Linked DNA regions of Homo sapiens: region 2 is linked to region 1. Evidence: promoter capture Hi-C in 16 types of primary human blood cells and fetal thymus (Javierre and others, 2016). All regions are on one chromosome and are shown on one strand. Each heading gives the region's core, a stretch centred on a gene start or on the middle of the fragment in contact. The rest is flanking DNA. Distances are from core to core; before and after follow the strand shown.

Region 1 (3,951 bases), core at 1,040-3,539:
TACACATTGGAGATACTGGGCTCCACATTTAGCTGGAAGACATGCCATGTCTTCTTGAGTTCCCTCTAATCTTCCTCTCCCATTGCGCATAAAGGATCTTCAAACCTTCTCCGCACTCATGCCCCTTGTCCTACCACCTCCACAGCTCCTTCTCTACAGAAAAACTTGCCTTTTATTTCACAGAAGAAATGCAACCTAGAGGCCAAAGCAGGCAGATCACTTGAGCTGAGAAGTTTGAGATCAGCCTGGGGAACAAAGTGAGACCCCGCCTCTACAAAAATTACAAAAATTAGCTGGACAAGATGATTCATGTCTGTCGTCTCAGCTACTCGGGAGGCTGAGGTGAGAGCATCGCTTGAGCCCGGCAGGCGGAGGTTGCAGTGAGCTGAGATCATGCCGCTGCACTCCAGCCTGGGTGACAGAGTGAGACCGTCTCAAAAAAACAAAACCAAAAAACCCAACAACAACAACAATAACAAATCACACACAGGGTTTTGTGTCATGTTAATTTTTTTTTTTTAAACAGGGTATCATGCTGTCGCCCAGGTTGGTGCAATCTTGGCTCACTACAAATTCTCGGGCTCAAGTGAGGCTCCCACCTCAGCTTCCCGAGTAGCTGAGACTACAGGCCTGCACCACCACGCCTGGCTAATTTTTGTATTTTTTGTAGAGACGGGGTCTCACTTTGTTGCCCAGGTTGATCTCAAACTTCTCAGCTCAAGTGATCCGCTCGCCTTGGCCTCTCAAAGTGCTGGGATTACAGGCATGAGCCACCTCTCCAGGCCATGTCCATCCTATTAACATTTGGAAGTGCCTAGCACAGTGTACTCTTTAGAATTGTGGAATAACAATGATTGATGAAATGAAACATATACTTGAAGATGCTACTAGGGTATACGAGATTTTTTTTCTGACTTAGAACTACATCAAAGAAAGAAGGGCCTAAGACCAAGGTTTGGGAATGTACACAATGAATTGCTCAAAAGAGAGTTAGCTTTAGTAATGACAGGAAGAAGCTATTTCTTCAACCAAACAGAATACACACAGAAAAATTTAAAAGAGCCATTACACTGGCTGGCAAAACAGATGTGGATATTATGGCCCTGGTACACACGGAGTTTATAGTCAGGTACACTGTCCTGTCACAACGACCAATACGTTATCGTATTTACAGCGTTTTGGAGTTTCTGTCCATCTCTGTCAATATAATACACTTTGAAATAAGTTTCTTACTTAGAATCCCTAGCAGTGTTTGATACACAGTTGGAGCTCAATAAATGTTTACGGAGTGAATGATGAGGCACAAAAGGAATTTGTTGAATTATTTGTTAAATGAATCAAATAATTTTCTAGGATTCACGGGCTGTCTTCTGCACGATAAGCTTCATTCTGTGGGTCTGAGTTTCTCCTGGTTCTCAATTCTGTCTTTTTGTGGATTATCTACTTTGTAGCTGGAGCTTTGTATCTGTTTAAGATAATTATTCTTCTATTCCTTTTTTTTTTTTTTTTTTTTTGAGACGGAGTCTCGCTCTGCCGCCCAGGCTGGAGTGCAGTAGCGCGATCTCGGCTCACTGCAACCTCCGCCTCCTGGGTTCACGCCACTCTCCTGCCTCAGTCTCCCAAGTAGCTGAGACTACAGGCGCCCACCACCACGCCCGGCTAATTTTTTGTATTTTTAGTAGAGACGGGGTTTCCCCGTGTTAGCCAGGATGGTCTCGATCTCCTGACCTTGTGATCCGCCCGCCTCTGCCTCCCAGAGTGCTGGGATTACAGGCGTGAGCCTCCGCGCCCGGCTCTTCTATTCTTAGTAGAAGCAACCAGTAGCCCTAGCGAAACCAGACGTTAATTCCATTCTCGCAGTTCTTTTCCCCAGGGCAAGCAGCAAAAAATGCATTCCCACAAAAGAGCAAGCTCATCCCCAAATCCCGGGTTTCCCACCCCCACAAGCTTCAGGAAAACAGGAGCGAGGCACGTGAATACTTCTTTGGACCTCAGCGATCCCAGAACCTAGGCTACTAAAACATCCATAGGCTTAACCTCATCATATAACTTAAACAGCCTTCGCAACACCGAGAGCACCACACCAACACCTTCTTATCCAGCCCTGGTTGGGACAAGGGCTCCAACTCCAGACTGCAGTCCTCGGTAGCGCGGTGTCTTCTGGGATCTGTAGGCTCCCGCGGTTCGGCCTTCCTCCCTCTGTGACTCCAATTCCCGGCAGTCAGTGGGCTCCAAGGTCCGCCCTTTTTCTGGAGGAGGAGCTCAGAGCGTACGGGAGGGGGCGGACCCTTGCCCCTCCGGCGCTTGGGCCAGAGTGGTGCGGGCGGCGCGTGGCGGCGATCCCCACGTGGTGGCTTTCTCACGCTAGCCCTCTTTGGTCCTCCTTGACGTCCCGGGCCTGTGGGCCCGCTTTCTGCCGAGATGCCGAAGGTCAAGTCGGGGGCCATCGGCCGCCGCCGCGGGCGGCAGGAGCAGCGCCGGGAGCTGAAGAGCGCTGGAGGTGCGGATCCCCGCGAGGAAGCTGGGGTCGGTCGGGTCAGGTCTTCCGGCAGGACCTAGCCTGGGGTGCGGACCAAGACCTGATCGGCAGAGGCCGGTCAGGACGCGCTCCCGTGAGCGCGGAAGGCAGGGGTGGGTCCCCGACTCGGCCGCAGGCCCTGCGCGTCGCCGCTGACTTCCTTTCCAGCTGGAGGATGAACTTATAAAGAGTTTGTCAGTCCTGGCGTGACGTTTCGTGGCCCTGGTTGGCGCAGAAATCTTCCCCATACCCATGCAGCTTTCTTCTCTGGTACTGCCTAATATCTAATCTCAGTAGGAAAATTAATGCTGTTTCGTATTTTCTTACAGGACTCATGTTCAACACGGGGATTGGGCAGCACATTTTGAAAAATCCTCTCATTATTAACAGCATTATCGATAAGGTGGGTGTGGAAGAGGAAAGGGAGAGAGTTGTTGGTTTATTAATTTTATTCCTATGAATACATAAGCGCAGAAAGTCTGCCTGCCGTAAATTAGATGCTCTGTAAATATTTGTTGAATGAATCAAATAATTGTCTAGGATTCTTGGGCTGTCTTCTGCATGATAAGCTTCATTTTGTGGGTCTGAGTTTCTCCTGGTTCCCAATTCTGTGTCTTTTTGTGGATTATCTACTTTATAGCTGGACCTTTGTATTTGTTCAAGATAATTATTCTTCTATTTCTAATCACCTTTTTGATCACTTAGTTTTTATGTACTCCATCTATTTATGTCTAAACTACACATTAGAAAGTTTGTTCCCCAGAAAAACATATAGTACTACATATAAATTATTTGGTGTATGCTAGTACCACATATAAATTGCTTGGAGTATTACTGCTTTCTGAGTTATTGATGTTCTCTTATGGTTATGGATGATTGGGTGTTAGGAAGTGAAATACACACGGTGCAGATTACACTTATGGTTAAAAGCAAGGAAAGCATCCTGGAGCTGTAGAAAGAGCATTACATAGTTAAAGGATCTTGTCAGGCTTCGTGTCATTTGAAAACTGAGAAAAAAAGAAAGAAGGGTCATGTACTATTTTAACCTTTTTAGCTCATAGTTTCCTTTGAGCATCTGATGAAAGCTATGGCCGTAGAATATTAGAGCTGTGTGCAGACATTCAATTTTGTGTACAGTTTCTGCTCTTCTGCATCCTTGAAACCATACATGGGTTGAAAATTGAAAAATCTTCGCCCAACACGTACAGTCCTTTCCCATTTGAACTTGTTGATACGAACAGAGAAGGTAACAAGAGGCTATTGGAATATTTCCAGATAGAAAGCAGAATGCCAATCCCAGAAATGCTGTTGCTGCTTTTCTGACTCCTAAAGTTGAACAGTATTCCTCCAAGTTAGGAGAGGTCTTAGATTTTCATTTGCACCAAATGTTATTGAGGTAATTTTGTTAACCACGTAGATCATGAAGAAATCTA
Region 2 (3,547 bases), core at 942-3,441, 2.6 Mb before region 1:
ATGCCACAGCCCCGTAAGTCATGAAGACCTCATTCTACAACCTGGAACCATTACCAACCTATAGAAGAGACACTAGCTACTCGTCTAGCCCACAGGGCTGGGAAGAATGTCTGTTCCTCATTTTACTGGGTGGCCGTTGGATTGCAGGATTGGTGAAGAACCATCTTCCCCACAGTGCTTCAGAAAGTTGGGAGCCAGAAGCAGAGGGCTGTAGTTCAGCGATTGTGTGACCAGGGGGTCCTTGCTCCCAGAGCTCCCAAGATGGTGGCGGGCTGCTTGCAAAATGGCCACGGGCCGCTTCCAAACTGGCCGCAGGCCGCTTCCAAGATGGTGGCAAGCCTTGTGTTCTCTGACCTGGGGTTCTTGGGCTCACGGATTCCAAGGAATGGAATCTCGGGCCATGCGGTGAGTATTACAGCTCTATTAGAAGCCATGGGTCACGGAAGAGAACTGTGGAACCAAGTGACTAGTGTTCAGCTCCATTAGGGCGAACCCAGGCACTTAGCTGTGCAGGAATAAGGGCAAGCCTTTAGCCTGATCAGGAGCGGCAATGGGTACCTCACTGGATCAGGAGCACAGCGGACTCCCTGCTGGATCTGGACGGATGGAAGTCAGTGGCGGGTCTGCAGTGGCCGGAAACGGCAGTGGTGGATGGCGAGCGAAAGCTCAGCTCCAGCCCTAACAAACACGGACTGGAAGAGAGTGCAGTTGCAAGATTTAATAGAGTGAAAGCAGAGCTCCCATACAAAGGGAGGGACCCAAAGAGGGTAGCCGTTGCTGGCTCGAATGCCTGGGTTTATATCCTGATCATTGTCCCTCCTGCTGTGCTCTCAGGCAACAGATGATTGGCTATTTCTTTACCTCCTGTTTTTGCCTAATTAGCTTTTTAGTGAGCTCTCCTTACTACCTGATTGGTCGGGTGTGAGCTAAGTTGCAAGCCCCGTGTTTAAAGGTGGATGTGGTCACCTTCCCAGCTAGGCTTAGGGATTCTTAGTTGGCCTAGAAAATCCAGCTAGCCCTGTCTCTCAATTGCAGTGAGGACTCTTTAGTTCCTATGGAGTCTGACTTCTAGGTCTTTTTTAGGAACAAGCCATGGGCCTCTGCAGATGACATGGAACAACATATGGCTCAAGTCACAGATTATGTCACTAAGTCTGGAGGGCTGTGCCCTAAGTTTTTACAGGAAGGCAAGTATTTGACTGGAATCTTCACTGTGGGAAACAGTTAAGTGGTACAAGTTAAGGCATGTGGAAAAGACAGCATCTGAAGCTTCCACTATGCTAAACCTGTTAGCTATGAGGACCATTTTATCTCAGGGAGGACTGACCAGATTCCTCAGAACTGAAGTCTAAGAATGGAGTCCACAGAAAACAGGTGCAGGACAAGAATTGCTGGTAGGAAAGGGAGGAAGAGAATCAGGATTAAGAGAAGGCAAATAATTCCAAGAAGGTAGACTTGGATTTGGCAGGAAGAACAGCATGAGTGGTTTTCGTGAGAGCCGTTTAACAGAATTTCAGTACGAGTCTAAGGAGCATTTGGGCTGGCTAGCAAATGCAGAAGACTGACAGTGAAGGCGGAGGGAGGAAGAGCTGTACAGGTAAGCACTGCATAAGGGTGCCATGTCTAAAAAACATAATTCACATCACAAACAACATAGCTTTGATATTTAGTATGACGATTTTTTTCTTGCAGATTTAGTAGTGTTTCTTTTTAACAAAGTAAGTATATTATCACAATTTTCTGACATATGGAAGTAAAATGCCTTGGGGACCGGCTACCGTTTTCCAATTCATGCAAAGACAGCCTACGGACTAGCAATACTCCTGATGCGAAAAAGCTCAAAAGCCTCAAAAGGCATTCTATGATTCTACTAAAGTAGTAGAATCAATGAAATTTGTGAAAGAAGAATCTTCTGTTTATTTCTTACCCTGATCAATATAATGGTTCAGATGAGATATTGAAGGTTAATATTTTTATGTGGGGGATAAGAAAGAGATCAGTGGAAGTGAATCTTTCTGTTTTAACCTGTATCAGAACACAGGTACTGATGTTGTATATGTTCTGAAAATTCCTAAGGGTTTTCTTTTGCAATCCTATCTGGTCCTAACTCCCTCCCACTAGGCATGAGACCATTTCCTGTGGTTGCTAGATGTGATTTGAAGGTAGCAGGAGAATGGATAAGTGGGAAAGAATTACTACTCAAGTCAAAACCACTTGGCTTACATATAAAATTCTTGATGTGTTTCAAAAGCATCATTCAAAGCAAGTTGATAAATTAGACTTTTAATTGTGACATCGTAGGTAATGAAGAGTCTCTAGTAAAATTCTCCAAATTTCTTATTTTCTTTCCTATATCTTTGGGAAAAAGAAGTTTAGGAAAATGAGTCAGGTTTAAGGCAAATGGAACTATAGTACCAGAAAAAAATCCACTAATCTTTCTTGTAGGTATAGTTTGTGCTGCCAAAAAAGAAGCAGTTATATGATTATAGATAGAGAACAAATACTCTAATCTTGATGCTTTGATAGGGGACATTTCACTGATTAGCTTTTCGAATAACTAGTTGCTGTCTACTAAGTTTGAGATCTTTACTATAAAATAATTGCTATTGGAAGGCTATATTTAAATACCTGGAGAAATCACTCATTGTTTCAGTGATGTGAAATTTTTTTATTTTCTGTCTTATAAATAAGTGACTGACTTAAACTTGGAGCACTAGAAAGACTTACCAAGATCATTAATTGCATTTTCCCATCATGTAAACATTATGTTCAGGAAGGGGTGTAGTAGGAAGTTCTGGGAATTGGGAACAGACAAGCTGTCCTACTTGTCTTCTTGGCTTCTCTGATTGTATAGGTGTATTTGATGTTATGCAGTTTCTGTGAAAAATTTTGCATATCAAAGAATATGGTAAATTTACATAGGGGCTCATTATATAAAGAAATACCTAAGAGAATATGAGTCTTTGATTAAAAAAAAAAGCCTATTTTGCCATTTAAGATTCTCATGTCCATTTGATGTTTTTCATTCTTTCAGTTTTCTGCTCTAGGGCAGTGTCTAAGTCTGATTTCTGATTTTCAGAAAATAGGCATCAGAATTAGTTGAGTAAGCTTATTCAAAAAGAAACAAACGCAACAGATTCCTGGACCCCTACCCAGATCAACGGACTTGTCATTTCTGAGGCCTGGGAAACTCATTTTGACAAGATTCCTGCCCCTCCACTTCCTGCAGGGTGATTCTGAAGCACATTAATACATTTACGATTTCACATTCTGTGTTGTCGGGAGCAGGATGGAGATAGATTCTCAGTGCAGTACCAATCCATGAACAAAGAGAGATTAGTCTCTATTGAAGGTTCTTTCTCTGTTGAAATAAACAAAGGAGTAGTTTGAGAAAATCTGGGTGTATTTATAAAGGGCACACAACTGGCTGTGTGGGCTGATAGGCCTGGGGCTAAAAATATTTGAAACTGCAAAATTGCAAAACCGTCAAGTGTATGGATATTGAGAATTTTAAAAAATAAGATGGAGTATACTCTATCATGTAACT

Evidence for each region. Contacts are between HindIII fragments. The CHiCAGO score rates a contact against its expected background, and 5 or more counts as called.
Region 2: a contact is called between a fragment that was not itself captured here and the fragment with the promoter of DIMT1 in region 1, in 1 of 17 cell types (total CD8 T cells). The highest score is 5.4, in total CD8 T cells.

The regions. Positions count from the first base shown.
Region 1 is chr5:62,402,243-62,406,193 of GRCh38, reverse strand. It overlaps DIMT1 (DIM1 rRNA methyltransferase and ribosome maturation factor), which reads left to right and starts at 2,289. Exons shown (of 12, transcript NM_014473.4): 1 at 2,289-2,500; 2 at 2,848-2,921. The coding sequence starts at 2,422. RefSeq lists an enhancer at 2,079-2,368. The HindIII fragment of the contact is 1,140 bases long and covers 1,950-3,089 here.
Region 2 is chr5:65,027,963-65,031,509 of GRCh38, reverse strand. No RefSeq gene overlaps it. Among named protein-coding and RNA genes, the nearest start is that of CWC27, 260 kb to the right of the region's middle. The HindIII fragment of the contact is 1,839 bases long and covers 1,272-3,110 here.